6 separate regions of the Homo sapiens genome follow, and all the other regions are linked to region 5. Evidence: promoter capture Hi-C in 16 types of primary human blood cells and fetal thymus (Javierre and others, 2016). All regions are on one chromosome and are shown on one strand. Each heading gives the region's core, a stretch centred on a gene start or on the middle of the fragment in contact. The rest is flanking DNA. Distances are from core to core; before and after follow the strand shown. Region 1 has its middle 30 kb from the start of LINC02691. Region 2 has its middle 72 kb from the start of LINC02691. Region 3 overlaps KIF26A (kinesin family member 26A). Region 4 has its middle 89 kb from the start of LINC02691. Region 5 holds the start of C14orf180 (chromosome 14 open reading frame 180). Region 6 overlaps LINC02691 (long intergenic non-protein coding RNA 2691).

Region 1 (4,394 bases), core at 3-2,502, 390 kb before region 5:
CAGTTAGATGATTTGACCCGGAGTATGCAGCTTAGTGGTGCCTGGCACATAAGGAACGCCAATGGATTTGGCTCCAATGGGGATGGCACGGACAGGGGTAGGATGATGTGTGCACAGTGCAGCCTCCCGTCGGGTCCACGGCCAGGCTCTGCTCCCACCAGCTGTGTGGACTCAACATGGAGCCTGGGAAATAGAAAAAGGCCTGTGAAGTGCCCGGAGCCAGCGGCACAGGGTGGGGGCACCAGGAGCTGCTGCCTGGTCCTCTCTAGGGCAGTGACTATTTGCTGCCATTGCCACGGGGATTTATCGGGGCCCCTCCATGTCCAGGCGTGGGCAGGTATCCGTGTCACCCCGTGTTACAGACCAGGAAGGCCAGGTCCAGGGCAGGCCGGCCTGTGCAAGGCTGACGGGAGGAAGGAGAGCCAGGCCTCTCCCTGCCTCGCCTCGCAGCAGAGCCCTGGGTCTGGGCAGGAGGACGGGCGGCCACAAGGAGGGCCAGACCCACCCTGGGGCCACACTGGGTTGCGTCTGCCCCTGGGGTGAGCCTGGTGGAGCCGGAGGGGCACTGCAGAGGGGCAGAGGGGTCTCCTCGCACTCGGCATGGACTCTGCCCCTGCTCCTGAGACTGGTTGGCCTTGAGGGCTCCTCCGGGAGCCTGGTGCCCTCACTCTTCAGAACAGCTCAGCACCCACAGCCTGGCCAGCTGGAGCAGCTGGGTGGTGGTTCAGATGGGATGGTGGGGTCAGTGGGACAGGCTCTGGCTTCTGGGGGCAAGGAATGAGCTGGAGGCAGGGGAAAAGGAAGGGGCTGGGCGTTGGGCGGGCTGGCACATGGGATGTGCCTGCTGAGGCCTGTGGGCAGGTCTTGGTCTGGGGACAGCCCTGCCCCTGTGTGTACCTGGCTCCCTGCTCCAGGCAGCTCCCCAATCTCAGGCTCAGCTACCCGGGGCCCTCTGCCCTCGTCTTTCTGCCCAGCTCTTGGGGGCTGTCCTGCTTCTGTCTCCCAAGGGCCTCACCCAGAGCTGAGGCAGGGGTGGGGATGCCCCCTGCCTGTGGCTGGTTGGCCTGCTCTCTCTCCTGCTCCCTTTGCTGTGAGTTGGGTGAGGAGGGGGCTCCGCCGCACTTGAGAGCTTCTAGCAGCAGCGCACCAGGCACAGGCATCGTGGCGTCGGGTGGCAATACATGGGGTGTGAACATAGAGCCGGGGCAGGTTGAGCAGACTCGCAAATGAGCTCCCAGCCCCCAGGGAGGCCTTGTGGGAGACCCCAGCCCACTCCCAGGGACCTACCCCAGTGCACCCCTGGGGAAATCAAGGCTGGGGTGGTCTCCTCTCGCAAGGCTGCTCAGCCCTCTCCTCCCCAACCACCGAGGCCTCTGCTGGGCGAGATCTCACAGCCTTCAAAGGCAGAGCCCTGGTGCCCTTCTCTTGGCATCTGTGCCCACTTCTCGGCCCCCACCCCGGCCACTCCCCCCCACCCTGTGGATGTGTCTTTCATCTGTCCCTTTGTGGCCCTCAGCCCTGTCCTCCTCCCTGCACTCTCCCTGGGCCACCTGCCCCTGCCCTGGGGCTTCACGTCCCCCTGGGCCACCTTGGCCCCCAGACCCCATCCCTGTGCCCCACATCTGCAGTTCCATCGTTTCTCTGGTATCTGCCCCATGTCCCTCCGGCCCCCAGATCTCTCAGACTTGTTCTCCCCTGTGCACCCCTCCTGGGGGCCCTGTTTCATCCTCTTCCGGAACCGGGGCATCAACTTGGGTTCCCTCCTCACCCTCAGTGCCTCCACCCAGCCCCAGTGCCATGGCAGGGTCGGGACCCTCAAGCTCTCAGGGCTGGTCCAGGAAGAGCCTCTGTCCAGGTGACCTGGGCACAGGGGGAGCATGGCAGTGGCGGGGGCAGGTGGGAAGGGATTGGCTTAAAATGCAGCATTCACTTAAAAACACAAAGAACATTTGTTCACCATGAAGTCAGGTCCTGCTCTGGTTGGTCTGTTTTTGGTTTTTACCTGGTTTTTTGGTAATTACCTGGTTTGCTTTGAGCTGCTTCCAGGCATCAGCCAGCCCCATATCCTGGTGGGGTTTCCTGGGGCCCCATTTATGCTCCCTTGGAAGTACCAGAGGGTCTTCTTTTCTCTTAAAGAAACAAATATTTGCACAGTTCAGCGCTGGGAAGGCCTCTGGCCGAGGTGGCCCGCGCACCCTGAGCCATGAGGGGTCAGGGCTGGGCAGAGGGGAGGGGGTGGATGAACGGCTTCTGCAGAGACAGTCTTGGCTCCACAATCTCCTCAGCTCAGGAGTGTGGATGTGCCATCCTGGAGCAGGTGCCTGTCTCTCCATGGTCCTGGCTGGGTGCCGTGGGTTCCGGACGGCAGGGCACCTGCCCATCCAGGGCTCCGGAGCAGCGAGGCTAGGCTGGGCCTTCAGCTCTGTCCTTGCTGGGCAGCGATTTCCTCTTCTGGACAATGGGGAGAGCTGTCCCTCGTCCTGGAGGGTGAAGTGGGTGGTGTGCGTGATGATCCCCGGTGCCCAGCACATGGTGGGCTCAGTGAAGCCAGACTTTTCTAGTTCTTCTTTAGTTCCCTAGACCTAAGCTCTCAGCTCGTGCTGTGTCAGGGCTGTGTTGAGGGAGGGAAGTCAGGTGTAGACTGAAGCTCTTAAGACTCTTAAGAGCTTCTACGGTCCAGGGTGTCACCTACGGTCCAGCAGGTGACTGATGGTCTAGCAGACGATTAGGCCAGTAGAGAGGCAGAGAAAGTGCGGGGGACTCAGAGGAAGGGAAGTGCTTCCATCTGGGCCAGGGGTGGTTAGGGAAGACTTCCCGGAAGAGGAGGTGCTTAGGGGAACCTGGAAGGGCAGAGAGAACCAGAGATGCAGGGGTGAGGGTCCTTCTGGCAGGTGTCTGTTTCAGGGGATGTCTGTGTTCGGTGAGGCCAGGGCTGAGCTCTACTGTTGGCTGAGCTGTGGGGGCGGCCAGGCAGGGCCCAGCATGCCAGGCTGAGGATGGGGCCAAGGGGGGCACGGCATGCTGGCCCCCCTGCTTGGTGTTCACTCTTGGGGACTGGACAGTGGTCCTTTCAACGAGCCCCCTCGCAGTCCCTGCCCTGGGGTCTCTCCATAGACCACTCTGCACACGCAGACCCTCCTGCTAGCGGACCGGGCCACAGCGAGGAGTGAAGACCCTGTGCAGAGTTCTCGTGCGGCCAAGGACAGCAGCCCACCTGAGACAGGTGCCCTGTAGTAGTGGCGGGAGTCAGAGACACCCCAGGGACAGCAGCAGGGGCTGCTTGCGGTTTGGAAGTCCCACCTGTGCCCAGACCACCAGCAGGGTCTCTCCTTCCCAAACCACCCCCTTTCCAATTCTGGGGGCGTCAGAGACTGCTGGGGGCATGGGGTGAGGCAGGGAAGGGTGGTGCGGGAGGCTGAGTGGGAGGGAGAGGGTGGGATGAGGCCCTGCATGCTGGACAGGACTCTGATGCATCACCCATCCCAGGGAATCTGAGTCTGAAACACAGAAAGGACCCACAGCCATTGGGTGTCCCCGGGCCTTAGCTTGCTGGGCCCAGGGCAGGCCGGGCTGCTTCTTGCCCGGGGAACTCAGCAGACCCCTGGATCGCTCCGGGGTGGGTGAGAGGCTGTGGAGGGAACCCTGTCCTGGCCGGCTGACCTCACAGCCCTCTCCTGCAGACGGGGCAGTCGAGGAGTAAAAGAATGAAAAGCAGTCAAACAGCCCCAGGAGACGCAGGTGAGGCTGGGCGACGAGCGGAAGCTGGAGATGGGGCCGCATGGTGGGCAGCAGCAGGGCAGGCTTGTGGGGTGAAGGAGGCTGGGGCATCCGGCATGGCAGAGGCAGCTTGAGTTTGGCGGAAGGGTGAGGCGTGGGGCCTGGGCCCACAGGAGGCCAGCGTGGTTTGGGGGCCTGGTTGGGTCTGAGATGCTTTGGGTGGTCCGGGGGACGTGTCCCATAGGCAGCTCCAGGTGGAAGCTTTGGGCTGAGGCAGAGGCTGCCTATGCACTCACCAGCTCGTTAATTCATCCTTCATTCTTGCCGGGAGCTGTTGGGGAGGCCATGCTGGGGGCCGGCTCCTGCTGGCTGACAGGAGCCAGTTGTTCCACAGATTTGTCATTCAATAGTGTAGAATCAGATCATGTCCTCGTTCTCGCCACGGCGCGGAAAGCTAACAAGAGTCAGCCCGGCTGCAATCTGCAGTGCTGGCGGTTCCCGTTGAATGAGTGAAATTGGTGTGAGGGTGAGATAGGCGGTCGTTGAACAGAGAGCACACATCAGACCTCACGACAATGAGCTTCTTGGGAAAAGAGACCTGGCTTCCTTTGTTGACTCGCGGGAGTGGCAGCTGCGGGGCTGGCTGGAAATGAGAGCAGAGCCAAGGAGCCTTCAGG
Region 2 (4,339 bases), core at 809-3,308, 280 kb before region 5:
TTTAATAAATATTTGGCTTCCATTTTCAAAATGTTCTGTGCTCTTTTTAGGTTTCCTTATGGAAAGAGACTGAGATATTCTTATTTCAACTCCCAGGAGCCCATGGGTGCCTTTTACTTCCTCCCACTCTTACCCCAGACTGCCTGGTTTGTCCTGGTTTGGAGGTGAAGGCTCTGGCCCGGAGCTGCAGAATCGGTTCCCCAGGGCTTGCAGGAGTAGGCCAGGGGCCTGGAGGGCCAGGGGGCTGCAGGGGCCAGGGGACTGCAGGGACCGGGGGCTGGAGGGACCCGGGGGCTGGAGGGGCCGGGGGGCTGCAGGGGCCATCTGCTGCCGGCCTTTTCCCTTGAAAACAAGCCAGTGCTTCATTTCCCTTCTTTTAGCAGCAGGTGAGCTGGCCGGGGGCCTCAGAGCGCTGGCCCAGGTGTGAGGGTCACGCTTCTGCGGGGACGCCAGCCAAGGCTCACCCATCCCCAGAGATGTCCTGTGAGGCCCCAGCGTGACTCAGAGCCCAAACGAGATTGTCTTGGGAGGTGCAGAGTTGGGAGATGCAGGCTGAGATGAACCCCGGGGGAGGGGCAAGGCCAGGCAGAGGTGAGTGCAGAGAGCAACGGAGGGAGGGGGCTGCCAGGAAGGGGCCCTGGGCAGGATGGAGGCTGTCCACAGCAGCAGCCTGGTTGGTAGCTGGGCCCTACCCTCAGGCCTCCTCCTCCAAGGCAGGACGGAGCAGTGGTTAGGATCACCCCATCCTCCCAAAGCAAAGGCATCCTCTGTTCTGGGAGCTGAGAGCACCAGGGAGCTTCCTCCTGCTGCCTGGCCCGGGTGAGTGTCTGGGAGGGGCTGGGGCAGCCTGGTTGGTCACCAGAGTGTGGTCATTGTCATCTGCATCCCGGGGTGAGAAAGGACAAGAGGGCTGCCCTCTGCCTCCCTCCCGTGCTCCCTGTCCTGAGGCTGGCGGCTGTGAGAGAGAAGATTGTCGCTCAGCAAACACTATTTCCTCATCCACTGTCCCCATTGATGGCAGGCTTGGCCACCGGGCTCGATTTAGCCGGAAGTGGCCATGTGCCAGCTCCCAGCTGAGGGCTCTGGTGACCCTCCTGTGAAGAGCCTGCCTTGGAGGCTGCAGTCCCAAGGAGGAGGCTAGACTCAGCCCTCGTCCTCCAATGCAGCTGCAATGAGCCTGCTCCTCCTGCTGGTGGAAAATGCAGGTAGGCACGTAAGCCACCAACCCTGGGGGCTCAGTCAAAATCCTGAGGACCCCCAAGGGGCAGAGCCGATGGGGCCTTCTGACCAGGGTGCCCAGAATGGATGGCACTGGGGGACACAGGCTAATTGCGGGGGAACAGGTGAAGGTGGGTGAAGCAGCTGCGTGTTTGGGGCAGAGGGAGAGGTATTGTGAGGGTTAATTTTATGTGTCCACGCGACTGCAGACATTTGGTGGACTCCGATTTGGGGTGTGTCCGTGCAGGTGTTTCTGGATGAGATTCAGGCTGGAATCCGTAGACTGAGCACAGCAGATGTCCCTCCCCCATGCGGGTGGGCCTCGCTCAATCAGATGAAGGCATGACGAGGAAACTGGTTGCCTTGCAGCCGGGAGGGCGGCTGCTTTCCTGCTTTCAGATTTGAGCTGGAACATCAGCTCCACCCAGGTGTCGAGTCTGCTGGTGTCCGGCCTGATTTGCCACCATCAGCTCTCCCAGGGCTCCAGCTTACTGACTCGGTGCAGGTCTGCGGACTCAGCCTCCATCATTGTATGAGCTAATTCACTGCAATAAATCTCTCTTTCCACGGCCTGTTGATTCTGAGTCTCTGGAGAGGAGAGTACAGCAGCAGTGGGTGACAGACACCAGGGACCTCATTGGCACTAAGGATTGTCCCCGACCGGAATGCGGAGTCCGGGCTGAAGGAGGTGACTCCCCACCTCCCTGCCCTGCCCTGTGGTGGGGATGGGTGGGGGGAAAATGCCCAGTTCCTGAGCTGGACTCTGAGTGACAGTGGCCCTGGTTAGTGGGGGCCCTCTGCTGGGCGGTGGCCGGAGGGAGACAGGGTGCCAGGCCGGGAGAAATGTTTAGAGGGCATCAGTGCCAACTTCCTGGGCACGGTGCAGGTGTGGAGAGAGCTGCCCCCAGCCTGAGAGGATGCTGGGTTGGGCTTATCTCCACTCGGAATCGAGAGAACTCACCGTCCCCAGAGCCGGACTGGCTGCCATGGGAGGCCACCCCACGAGAAGAGAGGAGGAGCCGAGGCCTGTTGCTGAGGGTTGCGGAAGGCAAGGAGGAGGACACAGAGGGGCCCTTCCCAGGCCTCTGTTATCACGGCTCATTTCTGGAGTCCCAGAGCCGGGCAGAGCCAGGCTCAGCACAGCAAGGATGACGGCCCAAGTGGAAGCACTGGCAGGGAGAGCTGGGACAGACGCAGCCCCAGACAGGCTGGACCCCAGGGACGGTAAAGGGTGCACACCGCTTGCCCCACTCGTACTCTGCGCCCAGCAGCTCCCTGGATGGTGGCCGGGCAGGAGGCTGTCCTGACTGATCCCGCAAATGTATTTACAGCTATTGACGGCCTGAACGTGGCCTATTGATCCACGCCTGAGCCTGGCCGGGCGGCGCGTGCACTTGGCCAGGGCAGCCCTGCGTGACGAATGGGCAGCTCACAGCCCACCCTCTCCGACAGGTGATTGTTTCAGTGAAAATGAGAAATGATGATCAGGGCTTAAGGCTGATGATTGAGGAAGATTTCCAGCGACTTTGCAGGTCGTCTCGGTGGTGCTAATAGCCAGGGCCTCCTACAGAGAGGCATGTTCCCCGACTAGGCAGGTCACCATGAATGTCTGCAAAGACGCTGTCCTGGCGTGGGGACCCGGGCAGGGGCACAGGAGGCACAGACGTTCCTGCCCCTTTCCCTGGCTGGGTTGCGCTGCTGAGGTGGGCCAGGTGGGGTTCACTCTTTCTGGCTTCTAAGGGGGTTCCAGACCCCAGATGGGCCTGGGGAAATGAGGGCTTTGTGTGGACAGCCCCATGGGAGAGGGGCTGTTCCCAGCCCTGGTGCCCGCCTGCCTAGTCCTCCCTGGGACTCTGGGCCCAGCCTTATCATTCCTCTCTTCTCTTCTAAGATGAAAAGAGGATTCCTGCAAGTGGAGACGAATCCTCGGGCCCCTGAGCTGCAGGTGGTGAACAAGGAGCTGAGGGCCTGCTGGTTCCCCAGGAGGGCAGGCAGGGCTGTGCTAACGAGGAGAAAGAACCGAGTGAAGGAAGGCACGGAGGTGCCAGGGAGAGACCAGGAACCTCCTCAGCTTCCTGGCTTCCTTCCTGGCCCAGGCCCCCTATTCCCGGGGCCCTAGGCTGGGCTGAGGTCCCCTCGCCCTGTGCAGGGCCTGGGGCTCAAGTTCTACCAGCTGTAGCCTGGGGCCTGAAGGTCCATCTGATATTTGAAGGACTCAGAAGGCCCTGGGAGGGTGTTGGCAGGAGTAGCCTCAGTGTTGATTCCTCGATGGCCCCTGAGCCAGGTTCAGGAGCACAGAGAGACGTGGGTGCCACCTCTCCCGAGCTTGGAGCTCACTCTTGGGGGTTGAGATGGGGCCAGGAAGGGGTTAAAGCAGGAAGCATCTTGCAGGGCTGTTAGGAAAATGATATTCTGCTGTTTGACGTCATTTTAATTCCATTTCAAGGGCATTTAATCTTATTTGCCCGATGACTAATCCCCGGCCTTGAGTGAATTAATGTGCGGCCCCTTCTCTGAGGGGAAGCGGGACCCTTTCAGTGGAGACATCGCGTCACCGCGTCCCGCCTCTTGCTTGGCTTGGCGGGCAGGGCTCCTGGCCAGAGGCGGGGGCAGCCACTGGGTGGGGGCTGTGGTGAGGACCTGACCCCTGGGTGAGGAAGAACGACTCGGCATCTCCTTAGCCCTGGAACTTTCCAGAAGCGTGCCTGCCTGCAGTTTCTCCTTTGTGCCTATGGGCAGAAAATGCCCATTTCCCAGGCCCAGGACAAAAGCTCCAGAACTGGATGCTTCGAGGCAGGTGCAGGGACCCAGGTGGCAGGGCGGGGAGCAGCGAGAGCCAGCTGCTGCATGTCCAGGGCTGGTCCACCCAGGCCACCCAGCAGGGGCCTCAGCCAGGGCCGCAGGGGCCGTGACAGGTGCTGGCATGCAGGAAGGAGTCACCAGACTTGTCCACCCAGTTGGAGAGGGCCAAAGAGAAACTGGAAACTGAGGCACAGCCGGGCAGGGGCTTGCTAGATGCATTTTTCAGAAGGGCTTGATCTTGTCCCTGGACTTTCTCTGTGATCCCACCTTGACTTTCAGCCTCACGGGGCTGGGACCCCCTCCCCTACCCCCACCCCTG
Region 3 (4,323 bases), core at 543-3,042, 420 kb before region 5:
GGCCAGAGACGAGGGCGTCTTATCAGCGCCGGCCCTGGGGACCGTGTGGTCTGATTGCAGAGTGACGGGGCATATGATTAGGGCATTGTCGCACGCCGTGTGCCGGGCTGAGGGCTGATGAGCACACCATCGCGTTGGAGCACAGCCAGACCGCGCACGTGACCAGTGTGGCCTCAGCGCCACCCCAATTAGGTGCCGAGAGCACGGCTGGCTGGGACCCTGGTGGGAGCAGATGGGGGTCTTGCCCATCCTGCTCTGGGGTCCCCCGTGTGTGGGACAGCCCACCCCGTCACAACCGGCCTAGTCCTGAATTAAAGGGCCTGTGCGGCTGTTCTGGGCACAGCCCTGTGGCCGTGCTCCTTTGGGTCCTGTTTGGCAGGAGGATTTGAAACGTGGAGACTTCCAGAAAAGAAAGAATAGCTCCAGTGCTCAGAGCTCCCCCGGTCCCTGATGCTAAGCCCCCTGGTGCCAAGGAGGGTTCCTGACACTGGGAAGTAAGGGTAGGGTGTCGGCCCCCAGGCCGGTGCGTTGGTGACCTGGAGCCCAGCAGAGCGGCCCTGGCTGCCTTTTGTTTGGGAGCCGAGGCCGGTGCCGCTTGCCAGCCGCGCTGCCTGCTGACCTTGGGAAGTTACCATAGAAACCAGCGCATCGGGCTGGGGACCCAGAGGCGGTTCTCCCAAGGCGGGGGCGCTGCCGGCTGCCATTACTTCCAGCCTGTTAGGCACCCTGGGTCTCAGCGGCTTCTGCGAGGCCACTGCAGGTGGCAGGTCGTGGTTCAGGTTGTGGCGGGGGACATCCTGGCAGGTGGGCCCTGTCGGTGGATGCCTGACGTGGGCTGGGGTCGGTGGTGGGTGACCTCCTCTGTGGGGCTGCAGTACCCTGAACCCTCAGGGGTGAGATCAGAGGGGGTGTCCACTCCTGGGTTTTGTGGGTGTGGGGCTGTGGCTCTGAGTGGGGACGAGTCCACCAGGAGACAGTGGAGCTTCAGCCCCCGCCCCAGGGGTCTTGGGCACGTGCTGAGGGTACCTTCTGTGCTCCCACCTCCACCCTCGAAGAGGACCTGGGAGGGAGTGGCACTGACCCCAGCCCCTGCTCTGCCCTTGGGAAGTTTCCAGTCTGGAGGGACCGAGGGGCACCTCTGTGGAGGCAGCCTTAGATGGCAGCACGGGACCCGTGTAGCAGTCAGGGCAGAGTGGCCTCTCAGGGAGCGGGCTTTGAGGGTTGAGTAGGAGTCTGGCAGGCAGCATTGCCAAGTGGAGACGGAATGGGGTGGAGGTCAGGAGTTTGAGTTTTTGAATCCCGTGGGCCTGGGGAGTCTCAGCTCTGCTGCTGCCCACAAGCACCCCCCAGCCGGATTAGGGCACCAGCCTCAGGCTGCCCCCTGATCCTTTCAGTGGCCTCTGGGCTCCTTATGTCCACACAGGGAAGCTGGGATGTGGAGTGATCCCATGGGTGCCCGGGTACCCGAGTTTCGTTAATGCTAACAGGGGCATAGATAGAGCAGGGGCTGAGCCCCATGCCCTCACCCCCTGGGTGGGGCCTGGGGAAGCTGCAGGGATTGAGGCAGCGCAGCTGTGACAGAGCTTGGCATGCTGGCCCAGCAAGTGTTCGGGAGGGTGGGGCGCGTGGGCCGGGTGGCCCCGGGGTTAGGAGTTCTCCGAAGGCTCTGGTGACCCCCAGGGTTAGGAGTTCCCTGAAGGTTCTGGCAACTCTGATGACGCTGTCTGAGGCCCCGCTGGTTTGTGCCGGCGCTGGGAGCCTCTGCAGTGCCTCCTCTGAGGTACTTCCGTCATCATACTCTCACCTGCTCGCTGCCATGCTGGTATGGGGGTCCCCTCCAAGACCCCAAATCAAATGTCTTTGAGAAAACTGCTAAGGGAGGTTGCTTCCATTGGGTGGGGAGCACCTCATGGCACTTGCAGGTACCCAGGCCCCCCACTCCCCACCCCACTGTGGCCTCAGCAGAGCCCCCGTGTCAGCCTGGATGCCCAGGCCCATGGACGGTCAGGCTGGCACCCAGCAGAAGTGCAGCGCCTGCGGGGAGAGTGCGCTGCCCGAGGCTTAGCTGGGGACCCACATGGAAGGCACTGTCTGGAGAGGTGTCCCCACCTGTCTTCTGGCCTGTGGGTGAAAATCCAGGACACAGGAAGTGTGGACCACAGCAGGGCTGGGAGTTGGAGGGGCTGATGCCTCAGTCTCCAGCTGCCTCCAGCTGGGGTCCAGGGTCCCCTTCGCAGGTCTGCAGGACCCAGCTGGGGTCCCCCGATGCCTGCCCTGGTTCCTTGGTGGGGCAGGTCCGGCAGGTGGCAGGTGCCCCTGGGGTGAGGTGGGGGTAGGGAGGGTGGGGCTCCGTCCACCAGCCTCGCACGGCCCAGTGTGGAAGCTCTGGGTTGGCCATAAGTGATTCCTGCACGCGACAGAACAGGCTCGTGTGTCTCCTTGGGGTAATTAAGGGCCTCACCATCAAGGCCAACTGCCTGTGAAATTACCCTCTTGTTTGGAAGCGGTGATTTTTCTCTGTAAAAAGGAAAATATTTCCTTTTCTGTTGACATGAATCGATGGCCAGGGCCAATGAGCCCAGGCAAGGCTGTGGGATTGCAGCAAGACACCTGGTGGCTCTGGGGGCCGTTCAGGTGCCCGCTGTCTCGTTCATCCTCGCTCACGCGTGTTCTGAGCTTCTTCTGTGAGCATCTGCCCCCAGACCCCCTGCTGGCAGGGACATAGCTGTGTAAACTGGTGTCTCACGGCAGGGGGTAGTTGCTATAGAAGCAGGAGGCGCAGGGGCTGGGGACACCCATCTCAGGGCATCAGGGCAGGCTTCCTGGAGGAGGTGTCCTGTGAGGATGGGGGCTGTTTATGCAGGTGAAGTTCCTGCTTTTCTGAGTCTTCCCTTCAGAGTCAAACCCCTCAGACTTGCCCACTGAGGGCCGCCGCTCCCTGGCAGTGTTGGGTGTGGGCAGTGTCTGCTGTGGCCTGGGGGAGACAAACCCCACTGCTCAGAAAGTAAGTTCCTGCCTCCACAGGGCCGTGGGCCCTCAAGGGCTGTTGAACCCAAGCGTGGTAGCCAGATGGGGGCTGCTGTGTCTGATGGTCGTTTCCATGGGGGCCTGAATTTCATCAAAGGAGAAAGTGCTCGTTCTGGGGCCTCGTTAATGCAGTGGCAGGTCTTTGAGTCATACCAGTGAGGTAAGCCCGTAAAAGCAGGCACCGGGAGGGCCCAGCAGGCTGGGGTGCAGCCTGTTGGCGATGGGCCCCAGGAGGAGGAGGCGCCTCAAGTTAGGTCAGATTGTGGGGTGGAGATGTGGGGCGAACAACCTTCCAGACTTCCAGGGCTGATGGAACCACAGAGGACGCCCGGTCCCAGCCTCTGTCTAGGCGGCCTGGGCCCTGGGTGTGCCCGCTGTGGCCCAGGCATACCTGAGATCTGTGCTGCGGACGCTGCTCCTGGGAGGGTCACTGGAGGGGCAGAGCCCTTGTGTGGCCGACGGGGCAAAGGGCCAGCCTGGTTTTGGCCTCTGCAGACCTAAGGCTCCAGCCTCAATCTCCCTCTGGCCTCTCCAAGTGCTGCTCCAGTCTCCAGTGCTTGCCCGGCCTCCGCGTCCCCTGGAAGCTTGGGGGTGTGGGTGCCGATGCCCTATTGCCCACAGCCTTGGGTTGCAGCTGGTACCTTGACCCTGCCCAGCCTTGGGAGGGGCTGCAGGGGAGGGTGGAGGAGCTGGCTCTGGGTGGGCGTGACCTCTCCCCATCCACTTGAGGCCGAGCCAACACCCTCCAGTGAGGGCTGGTGCTGGGCGTCCCCCACATCCATTTCCAGAGGAGGAAAGGGGTCCAGGGAGGCTCCCTGTCCCTTATAGGGGCCACCGTGGGGACCGTCCTCAGCCCTGCCTGTCCAGGTAGGGTGGGGGGCTTCCCACCTGCACCTGCAGGGCCCTGCCCTTCCCCCCGCCCCGCCCCAAGAAACCTGGGGTCCCAGCCTTGGAGCAGCACCAGGCAGCAGGGTGGGGTAGCCCTGTCCCAGTCCTGCCTGCTAGATGCGGATGTTTTCCAAAGCGGGGCCGCAGCTTCTTCCCTTGCAGGCAGCTGGCGGGAAGCTGAGGTGTAACCCAAGGTCGTGGGGTGGGGGGTCTGGAACAGGAGGCTGAGGCTGGGGTGGTGGGCAGGCAGGAAGAACCCCAAGAGCAGACACTGGTGAAATCCAAGCCTCCTCCCACCTGTGCCCCCAAATGGGCAGATGCAGCCCTGCCTGCCTGCCTCTGGCCTCGCCCAGGCCCCTGCCCAGTCTCCCTGCCCGCTATGGGGGCTCACTTTGAGGTTTGGGTTGT
Region 4 (4,380 bases), core at 1,153-3,652, 270 kb before region 5:
CTATGGAAGCGACTTTGGGACTGAGTCAGGGCAGGGAAGAGCACTGCAGGCAGGGACACGGCAAGTGCAAAAGCCTTGGGGTGGCAGGGAGTGCCAGGAGCATGCAGGGCTATGGCAGGGTGGCAGGGAGTGCCAGGAGCATGCAGGGCTATGGCAGGGTGGCAGGGAGTGCTAGGAGCATGCAGGAGTGTGGTGGGTGGGGTGGTTGAAGGGAGAGGGACAGTGTGGCAGTGATAGGGGGCCCCAGGGGTGGATGGAGCAGTTCATTTGGAAACAATACAGTCCATTGATCAAAAAGAATCTCAAAGGAAATTTTAAAATTACCCAAAACAGTATAAAAAACAAGCGAACTACAAACTAATAACCCCTCATGAATACAGACATAAAATCCTTACCAAAATATTAGCAAACAGAAGTCAGTAGTATATAAAAAGAATATACACTATGACTCAGTGGGTTTATTCCAGGGATGCAAGGCTGGTTTAATATTTGAAATCAGTCAATATCATTCATCATGTTAACAAGCTAAAGAAGAAAAAAAAAATCACATGATAGTGTCAATCTATGAAGAAAAATCATTTAACAAAATCCAGCACTCATTCATGATAAATTATCAGCAAACTGGGAATAGAGGATGATACGGTTTGAATATAGTTTGTCCCCTCCAAAACTCATGTTGAAATTTGATTGCTATTATGATGGTGTTGGGGAGTAGGACCTAATGGGAAGTGTTTGGGTCATGGGGATGGATCCCTAATGAATAGATTAATGCCATCTAACCACAGTGCATTCTCCTTCTCTCAGGACTGGGTTAGTGATTGTGACAGTGAGTTGCTATAAAGTGAGATTTCTCTTTGTGTTTGCTTTTGCATTGCACATGCCTGCTTGCCTTCCCGCTTCACCATGTCTCGATATAGCACAAGGCCCCCACCAGAAGCTGAACAGGGGCTGATGCTGTGCTCTTGGACTTTCCAGCCACCAGAATCGTGAGCCAAATAAACCTCTTTTCTTTATAAATTACCCAGCCTCTTAGGTTCTGTTATAACAACACTAAGTAGACTAAGACAGAGGTGAAGTTCCTCGTTTGCTAAAGAACATCTACAAAAACCCTACAGCTAACTTTATATACTTAAAATTATAACTAACTATGTAATTAATACTGAATTTCTTTCCCCAAGATTGGAACAAGTATATATATATATACTTAAAATTATAACTAACTATGTAATTAATACTGAATTTCTTTTCCCAAGATTGGAACAAGTCAAAGATGTGTAATTTCACCATTCTTATTCAACATAGTGCTGGAAGTTCTAGCTCTTGCAATAAGACAATGAAAGCAAATAAAAGACATAGTATATATATCTGAAAGGAAGGAATATGACTATCCCTACTTGCGGAGGTTGTCTACATAGAAAATCTGAAGGAATTGACAAAATATTCCTAGAACTAATCAGGAATTCAGCAAAGTTTCAGTGTACAAGATAAACATACAAAACTCAATTGTATTTCTATATCCTAGCAATGAACATGCAGATGCTGAAATTAAAAATAGAATACCATTTACAACTACTCAAAAAATGAAATAGTTATAAATTCAACAAAACATGTACAGGACTTGTGCTGAACAGTATACAACATTGATGAAAGAAATCAAAGATATAAATAAGTAGAGAGAATGACTATGTTCATGGATTAGAAGACAACATAGTAAAGAGGCCAATTCTCCCCAAATTGATATGTGGGTTTAATGCTATTCCTATAAAAATCCCAGCAAGCTTATTTTGTAGACACAAACAAGATAATTATAAAATTTACACGAAAACAAGAAAGACTTAGAATAGCTGAAACAATTTTGAAAAAGAATAAAAAAAAATCCTGCCATCCAATTTCAAGACTTTTTAGATAGCTATATTAGTCTAGATGGTGGTATTTGGTCAATTGGCTGAGGGATGGACCCACAAACCAATGGACTAGAACGAGAGAACTCAGGAGTGGAGCTACACAATAGTACCCAAATGATTTTTGACAAAGTGAGATCTCACAAAGTGCAAAAGTAATTTAATGGAGGACAAATAGCCTTTTAGCAAATGTTACTTGAGCAGAAAGAGAGCCTCAGTCTAAACATATCACACGTTATACAAAAATTAACTCAAATTGGACAAATAGTTTAAGTGTAACAGGTGAATCCAAGAAACTTTTAGAAAAAAGCATAGGAGAAAACCTTTGGGAACTAGGGGTAGGCAAAGAGTTCATAGACTTGACACCAAAAACATGGTCCTTAAAGGAAGCATTGATAAATTGGACTTCATCAAAATTAAAAATTGTCACTCTATGATAGAATCTGTTAAGAGGATGAACAAGCTACAGAATAAGAGAAAATATCTGAAACCACATACCTGACAAAGGATTAGTATCTAGTATATACAAAGTACTCTCAAAACTCAACAGTAAACAAACCTTAACAACCCAATTAGAAAATGTGCAAGACCCCTGCAGAGACATTTCATTGAAGAGAGAAGATAGATGGCAAATAAACAGATGAAAAGATGTTTGACGTCATTAGCTACGGAGGAAATGCAAATTAAAACACAAGGAGATGTCACTACACACCTGTCAGAATGACTAACTTTTACAAAGAATGAAAACACCAAATGCTGGTGAGGATGTGGAGAAGCTGGATGGGAATGTAACACAGTATTGCCACTCTAGAAAGACAGTTTGGCAATTTCTTTAAAAACTCAATTACCCTATGATGCAGTTGTTATATTCCTGGTCTTGTATTCCAGAGATATGAAGACATGTTCACATAAAACATGTACATTACTGATTAGAGCAGCTTTATTCACCATAGCCCTAAACTGAAGTCAACCCAGATGTCCTTCGATGGGTAAATGATTAGACAAACCATGGTGCCTCCACACCATGGAGCACCACTCAGCCAGGAAAAGGAGCGAGCTAGTGACACGTCCAGCCACCTGGGTGAATCTCTAGAGAATTATGCTGAGTGAAAAATGCCAGTCCCCAAAGCTTACATACTGTATGTATGGTTTCATGTATATAACGTTCTTGAAATGGCAAATTTATAGAAAGGGAAGAAGAGACTGGTGGTTAGCAGAAATTAAGGAGTGGGTGCAGGGGGTGAGAGGAAAAGTGGGTGTAGCTACAAAAGAGCACCCTGAGGGTCCCTGAGGGGTGGGTGCTCTGTGTCCTGGTTGCATCCATCAACACCCTGGTGGGGATACCGTGCTAGAGTTTTGCTGGAGGTTTCCACTGGGGGGGACGGAATGAAGGACACATGGGATCTGTTTGTGTTATTTCTTGTAGCTGCTTGGGGATCAACAATAATCTCTGAATAAAAAGTGTAATAAGTAAAGCAATAAAAACAACGAATAAAGGCATATGTATCACCAATTTAACCTGCTTGGGACGTGGCCCCTCCCTGTTCTCACTCTCTAGGTCTTCTTCTCGGCTGGATGTTGGGTTTGGGGGAGGGCAGGGGTATGGGAGGGAGGGGCTGCTCTCAGAGCATATGGAACTGCAGGCTCTTCTCATTGAAGGAGACGCATTTCCATGTCAAGGTTAGGAAACTTCTGAGGACGCATCAGAGGAACCTGAGGCCTCTGAGGCTGGGGGAGTCCCCTTCTCTCACCACGTTCCCCGGGGCAAGGCCCAGCTTCGACCTCAAGGTCCCCCGTGCCAGGTCAGGCCCTGGATGGGCCTCTGGGCATGTCCTGGCTCCATCTGCCTCCATCCCAGCCTGGATGCGTGTGTGGAGATCCCAGCCTGGATGCGTGTGTGGAGTGGACGACAGGCCTCCCAACTGCTGAGCAAACTGCACGAGCCACACACCTTTCTCAGCATCGTGCTTGCTGCCTGTCTCAGCACAGACTTGAGGGGGGGCCTTTGCTGAGACCCTGGATGAAACCCTGCAGCCAAAGGACAAGCCCGGAACAGGCCTGCAGGTGCCACTTCCAGAACGCCTTACTGCTCCTTGTCCAAGGAGTGGCTGCAACTCCACCTTTTCCCTGGAACAGGCCACCGGGGCATGTGGGTGAAGCCTGAGGGTCACTGCACCAGGCACCCTGCCTTGGGGTCAGCTGGACCTGTGGCCTCGGAGGACTCGCTTCCTGGCTCCTGCTCTCTTCTGTGGCCTGTTGGGCTCACTGCTGCAGGCCCAGCGTGGACTCTCACCCAGAGTCAGCGCCCGGTGCCTGGGGGCCCCTAGGGTGGAGGAACTCAGTCAGTCCCCAGGTGGTCTGAGCCGCCCATTGGATGCCCAGCCCTGCACAGTGGCCCTGCCCCGCCCTGCCCAGCCCTGCCTCTGGGGTCTCCACCTGCCTCGGAACAGCCCGGTCATTCTCATCCCCAGTGTTTCAA
Region 5 (4,623 bases), core at 868-3,367:
GACTTTCCCAGCGCTCAGGAGTGCCCAGCCACTGGACATGCTCCGCCCTCCCGCTGAATGACAGCTGGCCTTAGTTGCTGTGTTCCCGGGGCACTGCTCAGGGTGGGTGCACCACAAAGATCTGGGGAGGGTGGGGCATCCGATCATTCCCAGCTCCCGGGGAGAGATGAGGGTGTGGCGGAGGTCACCTGGCTGAACAGTGACAGAGCTGGGCCCAAACCTGGGCACCACGTCATTGGCACCACTGCCCGTGGGCACATGTGCCCACCTGCCGGCTGCAGGCAGGCCTGACACAACTGGGCTCTTCCCTGGCACTGCCTGGCACAGGCACTGGGGACCCTCCGCGGACCCGGCAGCTCAGCACTCCCCTGGGCCAGCCTTATCTTGCCCTGCAGAGCCCAGGCTGGAGTGAGGCGCAATGGACGGAGGCGAGGAGGGTGCAGCCGAGCCCTATCAGATACGGCCGGAAATATGACCCCGCTGGGACCTGAGCCCTGAGCCGAGCCATCAGCTCACTAATAAATTACCCAGAGCGAATGTCCACAGGGTCAGCCCGCATCGCCTTTCCAGGGAGCACAGAGAGGGGGCGGCACCCAAGGTCTGTGGGCTGACCGTTCCCTCCCCTCTGTCAATGAGAAGGGTCAGGAAGGAGTTGTCCCGGAGCCCCCCGACCTCGGGCAGTGCAGCCTGACCTCTGAAATCTGGGAGGAGCAGCTCCAGCCCTGGGAAGCCAAGGATAAGCGCCCAGATTGGGCACAGGCGGGAGAGGGTCTTGTCTGGCTACAGGACCTCACTCTTCCCAGGAAGCCAGACTGCCAGCAGGACCACCCAGCCTTCCTCAGTGCTCTCCCTGGAACAAGCGTCAGCGAGCCAAGGCCCTCCTGCCAATCTGGCCCACCCCGTTTGTGTAGACACAGAGCGCACTGTGTGCCATATGGCCCTGTAAGAGAAAAGTTTGCTCCCCCATGCCCTGTACTGAAGACGGCAGTGAGGGGAGGGCCGGTCTGCTGAACCCCATCCCAGTGGCTGCGTTGCTCATGCTCTGACGGTGGGTTCCAGGACTCTGTGTCCATGCAGCCCCACGGCTGGCCCTGAGCAGTCACCCTCTGTGCACACTGTCCCCCAGCCTGGCACACCCTGGGCTCCCAGGGGTCCTGTAGCTTTACCCAAGGGAGATGCACCCCCATTCCTAATGGAGAAACACGGGTCTCTCCACACCTCCTCCAGCAGTCCCCTGAAACAGGTCAAAGCCCCACAAACCAGGCAGGGGTCTGCCCACATGTGGTGGTGCCCTGCGCCAGTGATGCCCTCACCAGCCTCTTTCAGACCTGCCTTTACATGCACCAGCAGACGGGGGGGCTGGCGAGGACGGGCCACCAAGCCTGAGCCAGGCTACCACCTCCGGGCTGTGTGACTCTGGACAGGGTGCCTCAACTCTCTGAGCTGCACTTTCACCTACAAATGAGGGGCAGACTCAGCAGCGCCAGGCAGGGCAGTTGGACGCCCACCCAGGACAGACCCTGAGAAAGGCTGATCCCTCACCCCTGCCATCGCTCACTGACCCATACATTGCCCCTTCCTGCCAGGGCAATATCGAGGGTCGGCCAGTGTGCCCCAAAACGGCAGCTTGGGACCCATTCTTTGCCTCTCCCTCTGGCAACCCCAGGTCAGGACTCACAGGGGCACAGGGGCCTGGGGCAGGGCGGGCACTCTCGCCACCACGGAGGCCCCATGCTGGGTCAGGGTCTTATTGGAGGCTGGACTCTGTGATCACCTCACCTCCCGCAGCCCCACAGTGCCCTCCCTCTCCCACTCTGCCCCGAATTCCAATCCATAGGTTTTTCCAAGAGCTGCACAGCTCTGGAATTGACCTGGGAGGGGGCACATTTGGGCCGGGAGGGGTAGGAACAGCAGCAAACTCTGGTCTTATCTGAAATCATGGTCTGTTGTCCACCGGGGGCCTGGGAAACAGCCACCCCCTTCTGCTCCGGGGCCAGCGGCCTGTCCTCGGGTTCACTGCTATTTCTGCCAAAGGGGAGAGGTAATTATAGCCTGGCCGCTGCCAGCTGGCCCAGCTTTGCGATCCAGCAGAGAGGGCTGGAGACGGGACGAAGGCCACAACAGACCCGGCCCTGCCAGCGGGCGGTGGCGCCTCCAGATCAGAGCCCTCGGGAAGGAGGCCTGGGCGGGCCTGGCCCGTTCACCTGTGTGCCCTGCAGTTCTGCCCGAGGCTCAACTCTCAAGGGCCTGGGAGGGGTGCTGCCGGCCAAGAGGGTCCAGGACCTCACTGGACTGTGCCCCACAGGGAGATCCCGAAGAGCCTGTTTCTGTCCCTCGGGGAGCCAGGAGGGAACCAGGTGAGTTCCAGCCCCAGGGAGAGGGGGCTCACTTCCTGCTTGGGTATGAAGATGCCAGAGCGGAGAGATTGCCAAAGGCAGGTGCAGGTGGGGAACCTGCCCCAGCTGGGCAGCAGGTGTGGGCAGAGACTGGGCAGAGCGGAGAGATTGCCAAAGGCAGGTGCAGGTGGGGAACCTGCCCCAGCTGGGCAGCAGGTGTGGGCAGAGACTGGGCAGAGCACACACTGATGATCCTGAGTGACCTGAACAAGCTCCAGAGTGGCCACCCTTCCCCCTTCTCCTGGGACTGATGGTTTCCCTAAAACGGAGACAGTCCCAGGCCGGCCCTGTGTCCACACTGAGGCCAGGCCGCCTCTGGGGGAAGCAGGGAACACGGCCACTTCAAACTTAGCAGCGGGGGTGCTCCTGGCCACACAGGAGCTTCCAAAGGGCACCTGATGTTGCGCGAAACAGCCTGGGCAGTGGGAGAAGGGGCTGCACTCTCAGGGGAATGCAGGCAGCCGTGCCAGGCATGAACCCAGCCAGCCTTCCCTGAAGGGCCTTGGTGGGGGGCATCCTCCGAGGGCAAGTCTACGCAGGCCCAGCCTAGCAGGAATGGATTCGTTACTCCAGTAACTGAAGCCTAGTTCTCAGTGTTTGGGAATCCCTGAGAACTGGCTCTTTTCTGAGCCGTCAGTCAGAAGGAATCCCTGTCCTGCCCTGTGTGGCCATGGGACCCCCACCCAGCACTGGACGCCACGCCATTTCTTGGGCACTACTGAGCTTTGCAGTGCCCTGGACAGTTGGCAAACAGCCCCCATTCCACATATGGGAGGAAGGGCCTGGGGGGGTCCCCCGCCCTGTCTGTCTGGAGCTCTCGAGGCCTAGGGTGGCCCCTGCACCCAGCAGATGAGCAGCCATCACCCGGTACTGCTGCTACCTCGAGCCCTAACTGCACCTCGGGATGTGAGGGCCCATCTAGGCATGGAGAGGGGCCTCAGGGGGCCACCAGGCAGCTCCTGCTCCTGTTCCTACCTGGTAGGGCCTGCAGGCACCTGAGCAAGCCCAGTGGGCGGTCAGCCCAGCCAGGGGCCTCCCCACAAGTTCTCCCTCTTACTTAAGTCGAGAACGCATGTTGTCTGGGGAGCTGCCAGCGTGGTTCCAGTGGTGAGCGTTGGGCTGGGAGCCAAGGCTTTTCCCAGGAGCCCAGCCACCCCGCCTGGCTGTGTTCTGCCTCCGCCCTGCAGAGGAAAGGCCAGCGAGGCAGTGTCCATGGTCCCAGTCTTCTTCCACCGGAAGAAGGCACAACCTGCATCTGCAGCCCCAGGGCCATTGGGTTAGGCCTGTGGCCAAACTACTAAGGTGCTGGGAGACTGAGGAGGCCCAGCTCCTCCTGGGGCCACCAAGCCCGTGGTTGACGGCCTCCCCATGGACCGGGCTGTCCCGAGAGCAGCAAGTCAGCCGGGGCCCTCAGGGCCGCTGAGGCCACTGCTCAGTGTCGCCGTAATGGAAACTTCTCAGCTGGTTGTGAGCCGCAACAGCTCTGGTTCACACCCTGCGACAGCGAGGCTGTGACCGCCAGTGGATCTCGGGGCTGATCAGGCCTGAGCCACCCCGGAGGTACAGCACCAGCAGGAGCCCAGGTGGGCAGGGGCAGAGAGAGAGAGAGAGAGAGAGAGAGAGTATGTATGTGTGTGTGTGTAAGTGGTGGGGGTGGGGGCTGTGAGTCTCCAGCTTCTCCCAGGGAGGTCTCTGGCTTCCCAGGAGCCTGGCCCCCTGTCTCCAGCTCCCAAGTGAGTTGCCCTGGGGGAGGCTGCACCTGGAACAGGGAAACAGGGAGCCTGGCCCCAGCCTGCACTCGCTCAGGCCCCGGGACCCTCTGCCCCTGGAAGGCTGTGAGGCTGCCGTGTGAATGGGTGCAGTGCCAGGCGAGGGGTGAGCCGGGAGTGTGGGGCCGCACGCTCAGAGCCGAGGAAGGGCAGTGCCAGGCGAGGGGTGAGCCGGGAGTGTGGGGCCGCACGCTCAGAGCCGAGGAAGGACCTCCCATGTGGGGTGGGTGGGATGTCAGGATTTCTCACGAGCCAGCTGCTGCATGGGGGGCACTGCCCGCCCCGAGGAACCCTCAGGGAGGACAGAGAAACATCAGGAGGTGGGCTGTGGGCAAAAGGGCGGGCGGCACGGGCCAGGCAGAGGCAGCAGCCTGGGAGGAGGCGGGAAGCCAGCGGGCGGCGTCCTGGAGGACGGGGCAGGAGTGGGAGGGAGCAGCAGTGGCTGGGCCCCAGAGCTT
Region 6 (4,556 bases), core at 2,057-4,556, 350 kb before region 5:
TACCTGGCTGTGGACAGTCGCACCGTTAAAGGCAGCAGCGCTAACTGCCGTTCACGGAGCACCCACTGTCTGCTAAGCTCAGTGGAAGATCCTTTGTTTTATTCTCTCCGTGAGTGCTTGTCGCAGCCCTGCAAGGTAGGTGTCCCTGATGGGAAACTGAGGCTCAGTCACTGCAGGTGACTTCCCAAAGGAACACAGCCTGGGAGCTCCATGTGGCAGCTTCCTCTGGCTCTTACAAGGGGAAGGATGAGCTCCCGTTGGTTGCTGGGGTCCCGCCCCTTTGCCTTCATGTCTGTGATGGTGGAAATGCTTCATAAGGAGTGTAAAGTGGTTTTTGTTCCCGACCCAGAGAGATCTGGTCACGGTAATTCTGTATCTGCTTGCCTATATTTATCCCCCAAGTCCGGCTGGTGACAGGGAAGCAGATGATCAGTGCCAGGCCTGATAAATTGGACCCAGGGCTGAGGCGGGAGAGAAACCCTGTTTTATTGTTGAAGACAAAGCCGTCGGGCAGGAGGCATATGTTGTGTTGGAGCCCTCGCTGCGACGGAGGCCCTGGGCCTCAGAGCAATCAGGGCTTTCACGAGCACCCCCCACCCACTACCTACGTGGGAGGCAAGGACCCCCATTAGCCCGGCTGGCTGTGGGGGAGGGGCTGACAGAATGTCAGTGGGGTGGAGGGGAGAGGAGGTGATCAATGAGGACTTATTGACTTGCATCTTTCCCCACGACTTGATTAAGACCACTATGGAGATGAGGCCTGAGGAGGGGGCTAGGGCCAGAGCCCCGGGCCAGTGTGGCTTAGGGGATCTTTTATGTTTGGAGGGCAGGAAGGGAACAGAGAGCTGCCGGCTTTGTCAGATGCCTGAAGAGTATTGATCCATATTAGAAATGATAATGAGCCAATTCTGCTGGGCTGGGAGGCCTTAACCATTTCATTGCTTACAAGGCTGTCCTGGTGGGGATGTTGGAGGAGGCTCAGCCTCTAGCTGCTCCTCACCATGTTTCTCCTCGCTCAGGTCTGCAGCTTCCCAGGCCACGACCTGAGTCCACTGATGGTCCTGGAGGTCTGGCCAGAGGGGCAAGGGCAGCAAAGGAGAGGAGCACAGGACTGGGAGCTGGAGCCTGGTTCTGGGATTGGCTAGACCCTGCGGGGTTTGCCAAGCACCTGGTGGGTGCCTGACATTCTGTGCATCTCCTCGGGCACCTCTAAGGTGGTCAGGATGACCCTTACTGCTATAATGACAGATGAGATGAAGGCATGGAGGCTCATAGTTGCCAAGAGGCCAGGCCTCTGCCTGCCCCTCCAGCACTCTGGGACGTGATGCTGCCCCTCAGACCTGCCACTTGCTGATGGAGCTTTGACTTTTGTTGAGTCATTTACCCCATCTGGGACCCACTTTCCTCATCTGTAAAATGACAACCACAGCAGGCTTGCTGAGATAATTCAGAGAACAATGACAAGGGCTCATACAGTCCAGCCCTGCACCAGCACTTGGTGGTGGGGCCTGGCCTGAGCCTAAAGCTTGACTCTAGCTCTGTGTCCACTTTAGTGAACATTTAAAGTTGAGGAGTCTGAGTTTGCTCCTCCATGGAGGGAGGACATGCCATTCATCTTTCTAAATGGTTGTGAGAATCAAATGAGTCTATGCATGGGGAGTACCTAACATGTAGTTGGTGGTTAACAGAAGATGGCTGTCATCATTGTCATTGTCACCATCACCATAATCATCATATCACCATCACAACACCCTCACCACCATCATCATTACCATCATGATCATCACTGTCACATCATCACCATCATTACCATCATCATTACCATCACCATAACACTCCATCAACATCACCACCATCATCACCATCGCCATTACACTCCATCATCAACATCACCACCATCACCATCACCACCACCATCATCACCATCACCATTACACTCCATCAACATCATCAACACCATCATCATCACCATGACCATCACCCCATCATCATCATCACCATCATCACCGTCACCGTCATCATCACCATCACCATTACACTCCGTCATCACCACCACCATCATCATCACCATCACCATTACACTCCATCATCACCACCATCATTACCATCACCATCATCACCATCATCATCATAATCAATATTATCACCATCACATCACTCTCACCACCATCATCACCATTACCATCATCACCACCATCACCATCATCATCACTATTGCATCATCGTCACCACCACCATCCTTACCATTACACACCACCATGAGCATATCACCACCATCATTACCATCATCTTCATCACCATTATCATCACCATCACATCATCATCATTATAGCTATACCATCACTGTCATCAGCATTACTATCACATCATCATCACCATCATTGCCATCATCATCACCATCATCATTGCCATCATTATCATCACCATCATCACCATCACTATCATATCACCATCATTATAATCACTATCACTGTCATCATCATCGTTATCACCATCACATCATTACCATCACATCACCATCATCACCATCATCATCATGGTCATTGTCATCATTATTATCATCCCTGTCATTGTCATCATCTCTTCATTATCATCAACTTGGCAGAGATTGTGGTTTTGTTCCCATCCCAGAGAGATCTGAAGATGCTAATTCCATCCTTGCCTCTATTTATCCCCCAAGTCCGGCCTGCAAGGGAGGCTGCTAATCTGGCTGCTGAGTATGCCAGATCCATGGGATCCAGGGATCAAGTGGCTCAACCCCCTGGGATCCATGCACTGGCATTTGTCTGTGGAGTCCAGTGGTAGGTCTTCCCACTACCAGGACACCAGGCTGGGTAGGCAGGCAGCATGGGGAAAGCTTGAGGGTCAAGGCTGTGAAGCTGTGGTGACTGATGTGGGGTCTGCTGATGGGGAGGGGGTGCTTGTGCAGGTGGTATGGGGCTTACTCTACTGCTGCTCCCCAGGAGTAGGAGGAGGGGCTCCAGCTTAGGATGACATATTTGGCTGCTTTCTACACAAAGAAGATGCCTTTGTTCAAGCTCAGGCTGGTGCTGGAGAGAGCATCATCCTGACCTGGGCACAGCTAGGGAACATCTCTTCTGGGGTATCATCTTATGAACCATTAGAGGCTTTGGCTTGGGCAGAACTGGGTTTTAGTTCCATCCTGACCCTGACTTGCTGATATGGTTTGGCTGTGTCCCCACCCAAGTCTCATCTTGAATTGTAGTTCCCATAATCCCCACACGGGAGGTAATTGAATCATAGGGGTGATGATTTTATAAGGGTCTTCCCCCCTTTTCTTGGCTCTCATTATCTCTCCTGCTGCCCTATGAAGAGGTGCCTTTTGCCATAATTATAAGTTTCCTGAGGGCTCCCCAGCCCTGCAGAACTGTGAGTCCATTAAACCTCTTTCTTTTATAAGTTACCCAGTCTTGGGCAGTTCTTTATAGCAGTATGAGAATGGACTAATACAATAAATTTGTAGCAAGAGTGGGGTGCTGCTATAAAGATATCCAAAAATGTGGTAACAGGCAGAACTGGGTAACAGGCAGAGGTTGGAACAGTTTGGAGGTCTCAGAAGAAGACAGGAAGATGTGGGAAAGTTTAGAACTTCCTAGAGACTTGTTGAATGGCTTTGACCAAGTTGCTAATAGTGATATGGACAATAAAGTCCAGATGATGGTCTCAGATGGAGACGAGAAACTTGTTGGTAACTGGAGTAAAAGTCACTCTTGCTATGTTTTAGCAAAGAAACTGGAAGCTTTTTGCTCCTGCCCTAGAGATCTGTGGAACTTTGAACTTGAGAGAGATGATTTAGGGTATCTGACAGAAGAAATTTCTAAGCAACAAAGCATTCGAGAGGTGACAGAGCATAAAAGTTTGGAAAATTTGCAGCCTGATGATGCAGCAGAAAAGAAAAACCCATGTTCTGGGGAGAAATTCAAGCTGCAGAAATTTACATAAGTAATGAGGAGCCAAATGTTAATCACAAAGACAATGGGGAAAATGTCTCCAGGTCATGTCAGAAGTCTTCACAGCAGCCCCTCCCATCACAGGCCTGGAGGCTTTGGAGGAAAAAATGGTCTTTTTGGCCAGGTGCAGGGCCTTGCTGCTTCATGTAGTTTTGGGACTTGATGCCCTGCATTCCAGCCATGGCTAAAAGGGGACAACATACAGCTCAGGCTGTTGCTTCAGAGGGTGCAAGCTCCAAGCCTTGGCAGCTTCCGTGTGGTGTTGAGCCTGCAGGTGCACAAAAGTCAATAATTGAGGTTTGGGAACCTCTGCCTAGATTTCAGAGGATGTATGGAAATGCCTGAATGTCCAGACATAAGTCTGTTGCAGGGGTGGAGCCCTTGCAGAGAACCTCTGCTAGGGCAGTGTGGAAGGGAAATGTGGGGTTGGAGCCCTCACACAGAGTCCCCACTGGGGCACTGCCCAGTGGAGCTGTGAGAAGAGGACCACTGTCCTCCAGACCCCAGAATGGTAGATCCACCAACAGCTCAGCTTGCACTGTGCCTGGAAAAGCTGCACAGCCCATGAAAGCAGCCAGTATGGGG

Evidence for each region. Contacts are between HindIII fragments. The CHiCAGO score rates a contact against its expected background, and 5 or more counts as called.
Region 1: a contact is called between a fragment that was not itself captured here and the fragment with the promoter of C14orf180 in region 5, in 13 of 17 cell types (naive CD4 T cells, endothelial precursors, M2 macrophages and 10 more). The highest score is 13.5, in naive CD4 T cells.
Region 2: a contact is called between a fragment that was not itself captured here and the fragment with the promoter of C14orf180 in region 5, in 1 of 17 cell types (endothelial precursors). The highest score is 5.2, in endothelial precursors.
Region 3: a fragment that was not itself captured here is called in contact with the fragment with the promoter of C14orf180 in region 5 in 13 of 17 cell types (megakaryocytes, naive CD4 T cells, M0 macrophages and 10 more); the score reaches 13.4 in megakaryocytes.
Region 4: a fragment that was not itself captured here is called in contact with the fragment with the promoter of C14orf180 in region 5 in 2 of 17 cell types (endothelial precursors and M2 macrophages); the score reaches 6.0 in endothelial precursors.
Region 6: a contact is called between a fragment that was not itself captured here and the fragment with the promoter of C14orf180 in region 5, in 2 of 17 cell types (M2 macrophages and endothelial precursors). The highest score is 5.8, in M2 macrophages.

The regions. Positions count from the first base shown.
Region 1 is chr14:104,191,878-104,196,271 of GRCh38, forward strand. No RefSeq gene overlaps it. Among named protein-coding and RNA genes, the nearest start is that of LINC02691, 30 kb to the right of the region's middle. The HindIII fragment of the contact is 5,448 bases long and covers 1-3,976 here.
Region 2 is chr14:104,293,134-104,297,472 of GRCh38, forward strand. No RefSeq gene overlaps it. Among named protein-coding and RNA genes, the nearest start is that of LINC02691, 72 kb to the left of the region's middle. RefSeq lists enhancers at 35-703, 704-1,371, 1,686-2,377, 3,761-4,339. The HindIII fragment of the contact is 5,388 bases long and covers 1-4,339 here.
Region 3 is chr14:104,158,980-104,163,302 of GRCh38, forward strand. All of the region lies in intron 4 of KIF26A (kinesin family member 26A), which reads left to right. Among named protein-coding and RNA genes, the nearest start is that of KIF26A-DT, 23 kb to the left of the region's middle. The HindIII fragment of the contact is 3,634 bases long and covers 1-3,609 here.
Region 4 is chr14:104,310,605-104,314,984 of GRCh38, forward strand. No RefSeq gene overlaps it. Among named protein-coding and RNA genes, the nearest start is that of LINC02691, 89 kb to the left of the region's middle. The HindIII fragment of the contact is 1,252 bases long and covers 1,777-3,028 here.
Region 5 is chr14:104,577,647-104,582,269 of GRCh38, forward strand. C14orf180 (chromosome 14 open reading frame 180) reads left to right here and starts at 2,118. Exons shown (of 5, transcript NM_001008404.3): 1 at 2,118-2,357. The HindIII fragment of the contact is 16,067 bases long and covers 1-4,623 here.
Region 6 is chr14:104,230,077-104,234,632 of GRCh38, forward strand. The region is part of intron 1 of LINC02691 (long intergenic non-protein coding RNA 2691); the gene reads left to right. Among named protein-coding and RNA genes, the nearest start is that of LINC02691, 8.8 kb to the left of the region's middle. The HindIII fragment of the contact is 903 bases long and covers 2,856-3,758 here.